2 separate regions of the Homo sapiens genome follow, and region 2 is linked to region 1. Evidence: promoter capture Hi-C in human tissues and cell types (Jung and others, 2019). All regions are on one chromosome and are shown on one strand. Each heading gives the region's core, a stretch centred on a gene start or on the middle of the fragment in contact. The rest is flanking DNA. Distances are from core to core; before and after follow the strand shown. Region 1 overlaps NUDT2 (nudix hydrolase 2). Region 2 holds the start of UBAP2 (ubiquitin associated protein 2).

What was found. The method cuts DNA at HindIII sites, captures the fragments that hold promoters and counts their contacts. A contact is called where the count stands out against the background at its distance.
Region 2: a contact is called between the fragment with the promoter of UBAP2 here and a fragment that was not itself captured in region 1, in 1 of the 25 tissues and cell types used here (dorsolateral prefrontal cortex).

The regions. Positions count from the first base shown.
Region 1 is chr9:34,331,453-34,337,119 of GRCh38, forward strand. NUDT2 (nudix hydrolase 2) reads left to right here. Exons shown (of 5, transcript NM_001161.5): 2 at 4,777-4,889. It also overlaps a transcript of KIF24 not described here. Among named protein-coding and RNA genes, the nearest start is that of NUDT2, 4.7 kb to the left of the region's middle. The HindIII fragment of the contact is 3,442 bases long and covers 1,940-5,381 here.
Region 2 is chr9:34,045,957-34,051,217 of GRCh38, forward strand. UBAP2 (ubiquitin associated protein 2) reads right to left here and starts at 2,931. Exons shown (of 29, transcript NM_001370062.2): 1 at 2,869-2,931. It also overlaps the pseudogene RN7SKP114. RefSeq lists enhancers at 2,041-2,897, 2,898-3,753, 3,034-3,563, 3,754-4,610, 4,611-5,261 and silencers at 2,714-2,763, 2,914-3,003. The HindIII fragment of the contact is 41,306 bases long and covers 1-5,261 here.

The sequences.
Region 1 (5,667 bases), core at 2,411-4,910:
CTAGGCCTTTCTGACTGCATAGACAGCCATGCTTTTCTGTGTTTCTGACTAAAGGAGGATGAAAATGCTTGGAATACCAGACAGATGCAGGGGCAGGTTGGACAGCTTGACTTACCTAAATTGGAGGGAATGTGAGCTGCAGAGGTACCTATGGTAGGAGCAATATCTTGCTCTAATAGAAAATTTTCACCGTGGTCTTGGTAGAGAAGGGAGGAGAAAAAAATTGTTTTAATAAAAATAATTTTAAAAAAGTAAATTCCCACCTTGGGAAATGAAGAGATAGGATGAGATGATCACTGAACTTTAGACCCATCTGTTCATTTATCTTATGGATAGACTATAGCACTTCAAATTCAACTTGTCCCAAACAAATGCTTCACTTGCACCCCCTCCTCCACCCAGGCACTCAAACCAAAGCCTTTCTCTTTCCCTTGGCTTATGAAACATCTCTCTGTCCCTTAGACAATGAAATATCACTATTGTCCATTTTACTTTGAAATATCTCTCAGATTCATCCCTTCCTTTCCTTTCTCACAGCCTCTGCCTTGATCTAACTGGAATCATTTGTTAACTGGTCTGTTGCAATAGACTTGTAACTGGTTAATCTCTCTGCCTCCAATCTGTCCTAATTCGTTCCCCAGCTTGCTTGCAGCTAGAATATCTTTGTAAAATGTCAGTCTGACCAAATTATACCCTTGCCTAAAACCAGTCAGAGGCTTCATTGCCTACAGAATATAAACTAAGCTGTTTACCAATGAGATGTCATTTTGTGCTTGAGGGTGTTGCCCACACTCCTCCCTTTGCTGGCAGTGCCTTGCATCCGCCTCCCTTCTGCCTGGTAAACTAGTGACCCATCAGAATCCTTATGGGGTACCTTGTTAACCTAAAGATGCTTCTTTGCTGCCTTTCCATCTTACGTTGCACAAAACACACTGTAACTTGTCTGTTGGAATGTCTTCCACTTTCACTAGCCTGTAAATCTCTAGGAAGTTGGTGCTTGGTAGTATTCAGCTTCATATCTATCTGTCAATCCTTCACACTGTCTGTCGCATGGGATACGCACAACAGACAAATTCCCCGAGTTAGCTTTCTAGAATTGTACAGCAGATGGCACTAATAGGCTGCTTAACAAATCCCCTTCACTAAGAATGATTTTTGTCCCAACCTTGTCTGACTTTGGCCTTATCCTAGAAGCCAATATTTATGCCATTACAGGTAAAATCTCCTGTTTCCTCCCTCAGCCAATAGCAAAAATAACAAAATGACTCAGCAGCTTCGTCTCTGCAAGAATGGAGTGGCAGATGTCCAGGGAAAGGTGCATTTGAGGGAATATTTTCTTTGTCTCAATTTATTCATGGTAGTTGGGGCTTTTCTTTTGCATTTCTTTCTTTTTTCTTCTCTTCCATTTGTTATTGTTCTTACAAGAAAGAGCTTTACTCATGGGTGGGTGCCTCATTTCTGTCCACTCCAAAAGGGAAGAAAGAAACTGGCAAATTGGAAAAAAGATGATGATGATGTGGGAGGTGAGGGAGTAGTCACATAGAATTGCAGTCACATAGAATTGCTTGTGGGCAGGCAAACAGTTGGCTTTCCTCCTCATCTGGAGGAGGGTCTGGGCAAATTTTCTGGACACTAGTGCCCTAAGTTAAGTGGAACATGTGGTTTTAGGTTCCTACTTCCCAGAAAAGAGCAGAGGAGGCATAGAAACCCTTTTGAGATGGGTGCTATTAGGAGCCTGAGGCTACATTTTACCCCTCCTTCAGAGTCTTCTTCGGATACCAGGATTTAACATCTACGGCCCTCTCCCCCCAACTAAAACCTTTTTGGTGGAAATGATCCCAGCTAGACATCTTAACCTCCAAAGGAATATAGATTAAAGACTGGGAATTTGGGGCCAGGCACAGTAGATTGCACCTGTAATCCCAGCACTTTGGGAGGCCAAAGTGGGAAGGTCACTTAAGGCCAGGAGTTCAAGACTAGCTTGGTCAGCATAGCAAGACCCCATCTCTACAAAAAAAGTGTTTTTTAAATTTAGCCAGATGTGATGGCTCCTGCTTGTAGTCCTAGCTACCCAGGAGGCTAAGACAGGAAAATTCCTTGAGCCCAGAAGGGATGCAGTGAGCTCTTGAGGCTGCAGTGAGCTGTGATCATACCATTGCCCTCCAGTCTGGATGACACAGAGAGACATTGTCAAAAAAAAAAAAAAAAAAAAAAAAAAAAGGACTGGGAATTTTGAAACTGGAAATGATTTTATAAATCTTGTCTGTCCTCTCTCAGGGCCATTTGTGTCCTAAGCCCTACTCTTTCATGGTGAACAGAGCTATGAAAGGGACAAAAATTATAGACTTTGGAGTTAGACTTACTTGGATTGAAATCCCATCCTTTACAGGCCAGCTATGCCCTTATGCAAGTATTTTAACCTTTTGAAATAATATCAGTGTCCTTGTAAATTAGATATAATAATGCTTCTCTTGAAAGGTTGTTTTGAGCTTTAGAAACAATAGTTGTCAAAAGTCTTGCACAGTATAGCTGGCACAGTATATATAGATGCTTAATTGACAACGCGGCATGAAACACTGTTTCTGCTAAAGGGATATTAGAATATGGAGAACAGGTCAGAGGGAAAATTTGGAGAGCTCTTCCTGTACCTAAAGTTACATTTCTGAGGGCTTTTTACAGTTACTCTGATTAATTTGATGAAAATATTGAAACAAACAGCATAGCCATGTATTTGTAAATTCTTTTTTTGGTACCTAGGTCCCGAACCTCCTAGGCTCTGAGGGAATTGTATTTATGGAGAAAGCCGAGAATATTTTTCCTTAGCTTCTAGAACCTTCTAATGACATTGAAGGTTTTTTTGTTCAGGTTTTTTCTAACCACCTCAGGCACTCTGCCACTTTTTTGAAGTGTGAATTGCCTGCTGTCAGCCTGGAGTTCTCACCTCCGCAATCCTGGCTGCAGGCATATTTGCATATTGGATGCTGTGTTCCTTAACCCCCTGAGGTTTGAATCCACTTGGAGTCTGTGTGTGAAAGCTGGCTACTTTCAAACCCATGAACAGTTTCAGCTTTGTGGTCTCCAGAAAAACAGAAAACCCCCAACAATAGTTCCATTCACTTTTATGTAAATGGCACTCTTCAGGAAAACACTGGGCTATTTCCCAGGGCCCCAGAACATACTCAAACATTTGTTTGAGTGGGAGGTGGGGAGAGAGTTCTTTTGAGTCAATGAACATCTGTTCAGAACTGCTGTGCTGGGTCCCAAGAAAACAGAGCTTATAATCTGTCTCTTCCCTGCCAGAGGTACCAGCAGAGATTTACTATACTAGGTATATGTGCTTGTGGTGGCATTGTACTGTGTCAGTTTAGCTAAGCTGGATTCCCAGTATCCTTCCTATCTGCTTCCAGGTGAGGGTTGTCCACAAGAAAATTTCGTGAGAGATTTGGAAAGCTGAATTGAAGTAGCAGCCAGTACACTGTGAAGGACAGAGCAGGGTCTGTACGCTGTGAAGGACAGAGCAGGGTACCAGGCATAGTGGCAGTACCTGTACTTTCTCTCTGATCTGGCTCACCTTGTTGGTGAAGGTCATCACACAGCCCCCAGCACCCCTAGCTCCTACTGAATTTCCTCCTTCAGCTCCTCTGAGTCCTGGGCCATGTGTGCAGTCAGCTCTGTAGCAGAGGGCTCCGGCTTCTCCAGATCACCTGAGTCACTGAGCTTGGGACCAGTGAAAGGAAGTTGTGGGTTTCAGTTTGTCCTCATGAGTTCCAGTTGTCCTTGTAGATCCCAGTTTGTTCTCAGAGGTTCCAGTTTGTCTTTGTTCTCTTCCACCTCACATCCAGTTTTCTTCCCAACTGCTGGCCTCACAGACTTCGGGCCCAACACCAGGTGCAGAGGCAGCAGAGTTGCATGGATTTATCCACCAACTTCCAAAGATACACAGTGTCTACTCCTTATAATAAATCTTTAGTTTTCTGTCACTCATAGCGTTTGCTTCCCTGATTGAACTTTAAATTTGTTCAAGCCGTGTTAAGGATGCAGAGCATGGAAGTGATTAGAAGCCAGAAAGCTTCACAGAGGAGGTGACATCTGAGCTGCTTCTGACGAGTAGGAGGTTGTGTGTATAGAGTGGGTAGGAGGAATTCTAGAGAATAGCTGGCTCAAGCCAAGCAATTGAAAGAGCAGTGAGGAGTTCTGTATTTCTAGAAGAACTGTTCTTTCCATGGGTCCAGAATATAGATGGAGAATGAGCATCTGATCCTAGCTCTTCTGGCGCCATTGAGATTAACTGTTAGCTGATGTGGTTCTTAGATGTGGTCATCCCTAATACACTGGCATCCACTGAAATACATTCTTGCTAGGGTACACCCTTGTCACTACCCTAAGATTCCTCCCCCACCCCACCGCTGCTTTCCTCTCCCCAGTGGTTCCATGTGGCTAACCCAGGCTTGTCTTTCTTGGCTCCCCATGCAGGCATCTTTGCTTGTCCATGTTGTGTTGATGGTGGCAGTGGTATGGAGTTCCTGTCTTAGGCAGGGCACTGTGCCCTCTAGTCTTGGATCCCTAAGCTTATTTAGGGGTTCTAACATTGATTCCATGGGACCTTCTAGTCTTGGATCCCTAAGCTTATTTAGGGGTTCTAACATTCATTCCATGGGACCCTCTAGTCTTGGATCCCTAAGCTTATTTAGGGGTTCTAACATTCCATGGGACCTGAGGCAGGAGCAAGGTACCCCACATCTATAACTTTCTAATGCTTTTTGAGCATCTTTATAGGGAGGGCATGGGATCAGCTACCTGTTTCTGCCTCAACCACGGACCAATAATATGAGATCTTTGTTCACCAGTTCTACAGTGATGGGGTGCTTCCTTTTGGCTTCTGGAATGGGGTAAGTTCTTGACATAAATAGGGAGTCCAGGAAAATAGAACAATGAAATAGAATAGAAAAATGAAAGCCTACCACTTTATATATGAATTTGTAAACTCAAACAGGGATTTCATTATACATGCTATTCAGAACTGTCTCCTTTTCATGTGTCTAAAAATTTTTCTTACAAGCAGTACATTAGGCTTGACCTAATTTTTTTTTCTTTTTCTTTTGTTTTTGAGACAAGGTCTCACTGTATTGCCCAGGCTGGAGTGCATTGGTGCAAACATGGCTCACTGTAGCCTCAACCTTCCAGGCTCAAGCAATCTTCCCACGTTGGCCTCCCAAGTAGCTGGAAGTACAGGTGCATGCCACCATACCTGGCTAATTTTTTTTCTATTTTTTGAGAGACAAGGTCTCACTGTGTTGTCCGGACTGGTCTCAAACTCCTGGGCTCAGGCAATCCTCCTGCCTCAGCCTCCCAGAATGCTGGGATTAAAGGCTCGAGCCACTGAACCCAGCCTCGACCTCATTTTTTTTAATGACTTCATGCTATTTCATCATATAGATATACTGTACTTTTTGCCTATTCCCATATTGATGGATATTTGTTTCTGGCTCTTTTCCTTTTTGATATTGCAAACAAAGTTGTAGTGAACATTGTTATATGTACATCTTTTTTTTTTTTTTTTTTTTGAGACAGAGTTTCGCTCTTGTTGCCCAGGCTGGAATTCAGTGGCCCCGTCTCGGCTCACCACAACCTCCACCTCCCGGGTTCAAGTGATTCTTCTGCCTCAGC
Region 2 (5,261 bases), core at 1,681-4,180, 290 kb before region 1:
CTTCTAAAATCTATCAGAGATCTACTAACTTACCAGTCAACACCATGGGTACCATAACACTTAGCTTTTAAGAACGCTCCATTTACTCAAAATAACAACTAAGAGCTCCATTTACTCAAAATAACAACTAAGAATGAACGGGTATTTGCTGACATACAGGTTTCTCACAAGGAAAAATAAAGACAGATGTGCTTAAGGGCAGAGAACTTTACAATCTGTAAATGCCTGCAGACTGCTTCTTTAGAGCAGGCATTAACCCTTGCTAATATACTTAACCACCCCCACCCCCCAACCCCACAAAGTGTCTTATTAACAAAGGAAATCTTAACAATAAATCATCATTTAAAAAAAAAAAAAAGAGGACTGGGAAATCAACAATTCAAAGCTAACATTTTAGAAGTAAAGGCTTCATGCCGGGCGGGGTGGCTCACGCCTGCAATCCCAGCACTTTGGGAGGCAGGCGGATCACGGGGTCAGGAGATCAAGACCATCCCGGCTAACACAGTGAAACCCCATCTCTACTGAAAAATACAAAAAATTAGCCGGGCGTGGTGGTGGGTGCCTGTAGTGCCAGCTACTCGGGAGGCTGAGCCAGGAGAATGGCGTGAACCCGGGAGGCGGAGCTTGCAGTGAGCCGAGATCAGGCCACTGCACTCCAGCCTGGGCGACAGAACAAGACTCCATCTCAAAAAAAAAAAAAAAAAAAAAAAAAAAAAGAAGGCTTCACTTCAGACCACTCCAAACCTTCAAGAAAGGTTTGTACTTTCTACACATATTTTATACTTAAGAGGGTAGATACCGGGACCAGTTCCCATCACAATACAAGTACATATTGAAATAAACCTATTAGTCTACATGTTCTCACACCATCACACCATTTCTCCCCATACAATAAAAGTCACTCAGGCTAATACTAAGAGAGACACTCCTGGTGATCACTACATAGACTGCACTAGTAACCAGGAAAGGGAAGCAGAGGTGTTATTGTTGTTCCAATATAGTTCTAAAGGCAACTCCATGTGACTACTGCTGATCCAGCCCACATTTAAAGGGAGGACAGAGGAAACCAGAGCAGCAGGAAACAGGCAAGAGAGGCAATTACCACAACCCTTTCCCATGGCCTCATTCTCTCCCATGCCACCACTTTCGGGCATATTTCAATCACAACAAAAACCTTCCTTCTCTGAAAGGTTTCATAATTATTGAGGGTGAGAGGCAACAGGGAAGCAAATGGGGGAAATCAGCGCTGTGGGAAAATCTCTCGTCACACGTATCAACTAGCCATAAGTAGGAAAATCAGGAGTATGCTGGCAGCAAGCAAAAGGGCAGTTTGGGAAACTAATCACTTCTGCCTAATGATAAGAGAAGCCTTCAAAGCAATGGAAGGACAACCCTAGCGAAGGGGCTCCACAGGTGAGTGTATTGAAGGAAACTATCATCTCCAGGGAGTGGAATACATTCCCTTTCCTGAGGTAAAAGGGGAACACACCAATGTAGGATACGGGAGAGCTTAGGTATCATGTTCAACTTCCTTCCACCTTTCACAAACTGGCACTAAAACGGATACACAATTCACAGTGAAAAGTGAGGAATGCAATAACTAGTCGCATACCCCTTGTTGAAAAAAGTGCTGTCACAACGGAAGAGGAATATAAGAACTGGGTTCACCCAAGAAATTATATGCCCTTCAAATAAAAGATAATCTTTGGATACCTTATGGAGACCTGAAAAAACCCTCAACTAGCTGAGCACCGTGGTGCACACTGTAATCCCAGATACTCAGGAGGCTGAGGTGAAAGAATCGCTTAAACCCAGGAGCTGGAGGCCAGCCTGGGCAACATATGGAGACCATATCTCTAAAATTAATAGTAATTTTTTAAAATCTCTCAACTGTTAGGATACACTGGTGCTGTAGAAAGACAATAAGCCTAAATACTGGCAAACCATATACCTTCCTTGAATGTGAGGTAAAAACAATATCCAATAGAAGTGGTAGTAAATGACTGGATTACATCAAACAGGAAATAACAGTAATAATGATGGGATCAACCCCTAAAGCGAGCAAGCATTAGAGACCAGAGTGGTGACAGTTGAGATGCGTGGGCAACTAATTAGACTAAAAACTCAGGGGAAAATGTGGAAAAGCCGAGTGGGAAAGTGATTCAGAGGCAAACAACTGAGTTGTAATGCACCAATGAAAGAATAACATTTTGAGTATGTATTATTAACAGAGAGAGCTTTGCCGTTTACAAAGCGCTCAAAAACCTACATTAAATAATGAACTGTGATATAACCAGACTACAGGAACGGCGGGTGTGGAGGAAAACTGAGTCCCAATTGAGACCAATGCCCTACAGAATTGAAAAGAAGTAGAACTGAACTGTGACTCCGGGTAAGCCAGGAAAGGTTAGAGAGCGCATAAGTTGGGGCTATAACAGGGCCAGTCCCAAGACTAGCTACGGGCGTGAAAGCGGAAAGGTGATGAGATGGGACCGACAGCGTGGCGGGGAAGCTCCAGTCTACTGGCAGGCACCGAGGTGGGAGAGAAAACCACACCCTCCAGGGCAGAAACCCGAAAGGGGGGAGGGGAGGCACCCCTGGGGCTGGGTGGGGCCCAGCCGACCTGGACGGGGGAAAGTAGGAAGAAGCACAGGGCAACGTGAGGGGAAGAGGAAGGAGGGAGCCCGGGCCTGGACGTAGAGGGACCGTGGACCTGGCGAGTGAAGCTCGGCCCGGTCCTCACGGGTGGGCGCCGGGGCAGTCTGCAGGCGGTGGGGTTTCAGACGAGCTGAACCCAGAATTAGAAAGCACACGCTGCAGCGCTCAGGGCCCTGGAAGAGGGAAGGAGAGGGAGAGGATGGCAATTACCGCTGCTGCTCTCGGAGGACCCAAGACCCGCTGCCGCCGCCGCCGCTCGTTACCTGCCAATGTGCCTCTTACAAAGCGGCGGCGGCGGCACAGGCTGCCCAACCCGTCACGTGACCTCGCGTCACGGGCGAAGGAGGAGCCACAACACGTCGCTCGTGCGCGGCTTCAGAGTCAGCCTAGGCGGCGCGCGGCCTCTTCCAGCCACCACCTCCACCCCAACCCCGCGAAGCCAACCGCGTGGAGGTGGGGACCACAGAAAGGAACAAATAAGGGAGACTTGATAATATGTATTGTACTCGGAGTCATCAGGAGAGTATTACCCACCGCATACAAGGTGCCCACAACTGCAGCTCGTCGTCGCGCCGTGATGACCTCACAAAGCACCACAGGTTACTCCCCTGTGGCCGCCCTGTGCTCATCACGTGATGTGGTCCAACCACTCAGGGCAAGCCTGGCCTCCCAAATGTTGCACGAGGGGACCACGACTCCCAACATGCTGCACAGCCAAGGCGACCCCTACCGCAGCCTTTCTCCAGCGGGCTTCTAGACGAACCCCCTAGAGACCTTAGAGCCGAGGGAAGGCCGGGACGGAAAGCGGACTAAGCTGGCTTGAAGGACTAATACCATTGGATGCCGCCCGCCATGTGGCGGAGCGTGGTGCCTGCTGGGAGGTGTAGTCCTGGCGGGGGGTGGGGTTCCGCTCCCACGTTCCTGGGCTCGCTCTGCGCCCTGCCCCCTGCGCGGGAAAACGCCAACGGCTAGCAGCGAGAGCCTCGGCAAGGCGGAAGGTGCGCCCACTTTTAGTCTTTTTCAGTGCGGTTTTACTTTTGCCCTCCCAAGCCCCTTCTGGGTGAAAAGACTAGAATCTACTGAACGCCTACTCCAAGTCAGCCGTTTATTTCTGTTATATCATATAATCAACTCCTTGAGTCCAGGATTTTCCCTATTTAAGGATTTAAAAAAAGAACCTTAGAGTTGTTTGTTGACCGAAGAGACCCAGGTTTTCTGTCTTTAGAAAATTAATGACCTCCTCTCAATAGGATCTGACCTGTTGTCAACTCCAAGAATTACGAATAAATAAGATGATGGTTTATAATTGTAGCATGGTGTTTTAAAGTATTTTCCATTTACTGGCCTGTTTGGATGTGAGGGCGTTCTGGCTATCTTGTCACCCCATAGATCGCCAGGGCTGATTCGGCTGATCTGGCTGTCTAGGCGGGTGGCCCCTTCCTCCCGCACCTCTCCATGTGCGTCCCTCCCGAAGCTGCATATTCGGTCGAAAAGGAGGAGCATCCCCCATAGAAGAGGACAAGTCAAGGATATAGGAGTAGCTGCACGCCCGTGTTAACAAGCTCTCAAGGTCCTCTAAACAAGCTCTCAAGGTCTACTTACTGGCCTGTTTTATCCCAAGCTAGTTACATACAAGGACTTTGCAGTCCCGGCATGCCTTATCTCAATTGGAGCTTTCCTCTGTAATAACACTTCACCGGCTTGTGAAAATTAAATGAGATTATGTAAAATGCCTGCTTGACACATAATAAACCCTCAGTAAGTATCAGTAATCATTTTCACACTCTACCCATCGGGCCCAAAAGGTCTAAGTAAGGTAGAAAGGGGAAATTAGCTTATACTGAACTTTGTACAGGGCACTATGCTAATTACTAATTTGCTAGTTATTAAGTAAAACAATTGACATCTTAAACAGCCCTATCTAGTTCAAATAAAGCCTTTGTTATTCATCTGAATTAAAGAATGCTGCCGGGCGTGGTGGCTCACACCTGTAATCTCAGCACTTTGGGAGCCGGAGGAGGGCGGATCACAAGATACGGAGTTTGAGACCAGCCTGACCAACACGGTGAAACCCCGTCTCTGTTAAAAATACAAAAAAATGTCCGGGCGCGGTGGCTCACGCCTGTAATCCCAACACTTTGGGAGGCCAAGGCGGGCCGATCACGAGGTCAGGAGATCGAGACCATCCTGGCTAACACGGTGAAACCCAGTCTCTACTAAAAATACAAAAAAATTAGCCGGGCGTGGTGGCGGGCGCCTGTAGTCCCAGCTACTCGGGAGGCTGAGGCAGGAGAATGGCGTGCGGAGTTTGCAGTGGGTCGAGATCGCGCCACTGCACTCCAGCCTGAGCGACAGAGCAAGACTCCGTCTCAAAAAAAAAAAAAAAAAATAGCCTGGCGTGGTGGCACACGCCTGTAATCCCAGCTACTCAGGAGGCTGAGGTAGGAGAATCACTTGAACACAGGAGGTGGAGGTTGCAGTGAGCCAAGATAGCACCACTGCACTCCAGGCTGTTCGACAGAGCAAGACTCTGTCTCAAACAAAAAAAAAAACAAAGAATGCTTAAACTGTGCCTTTAACAAACAGAACTGGGCCGGGCGTGA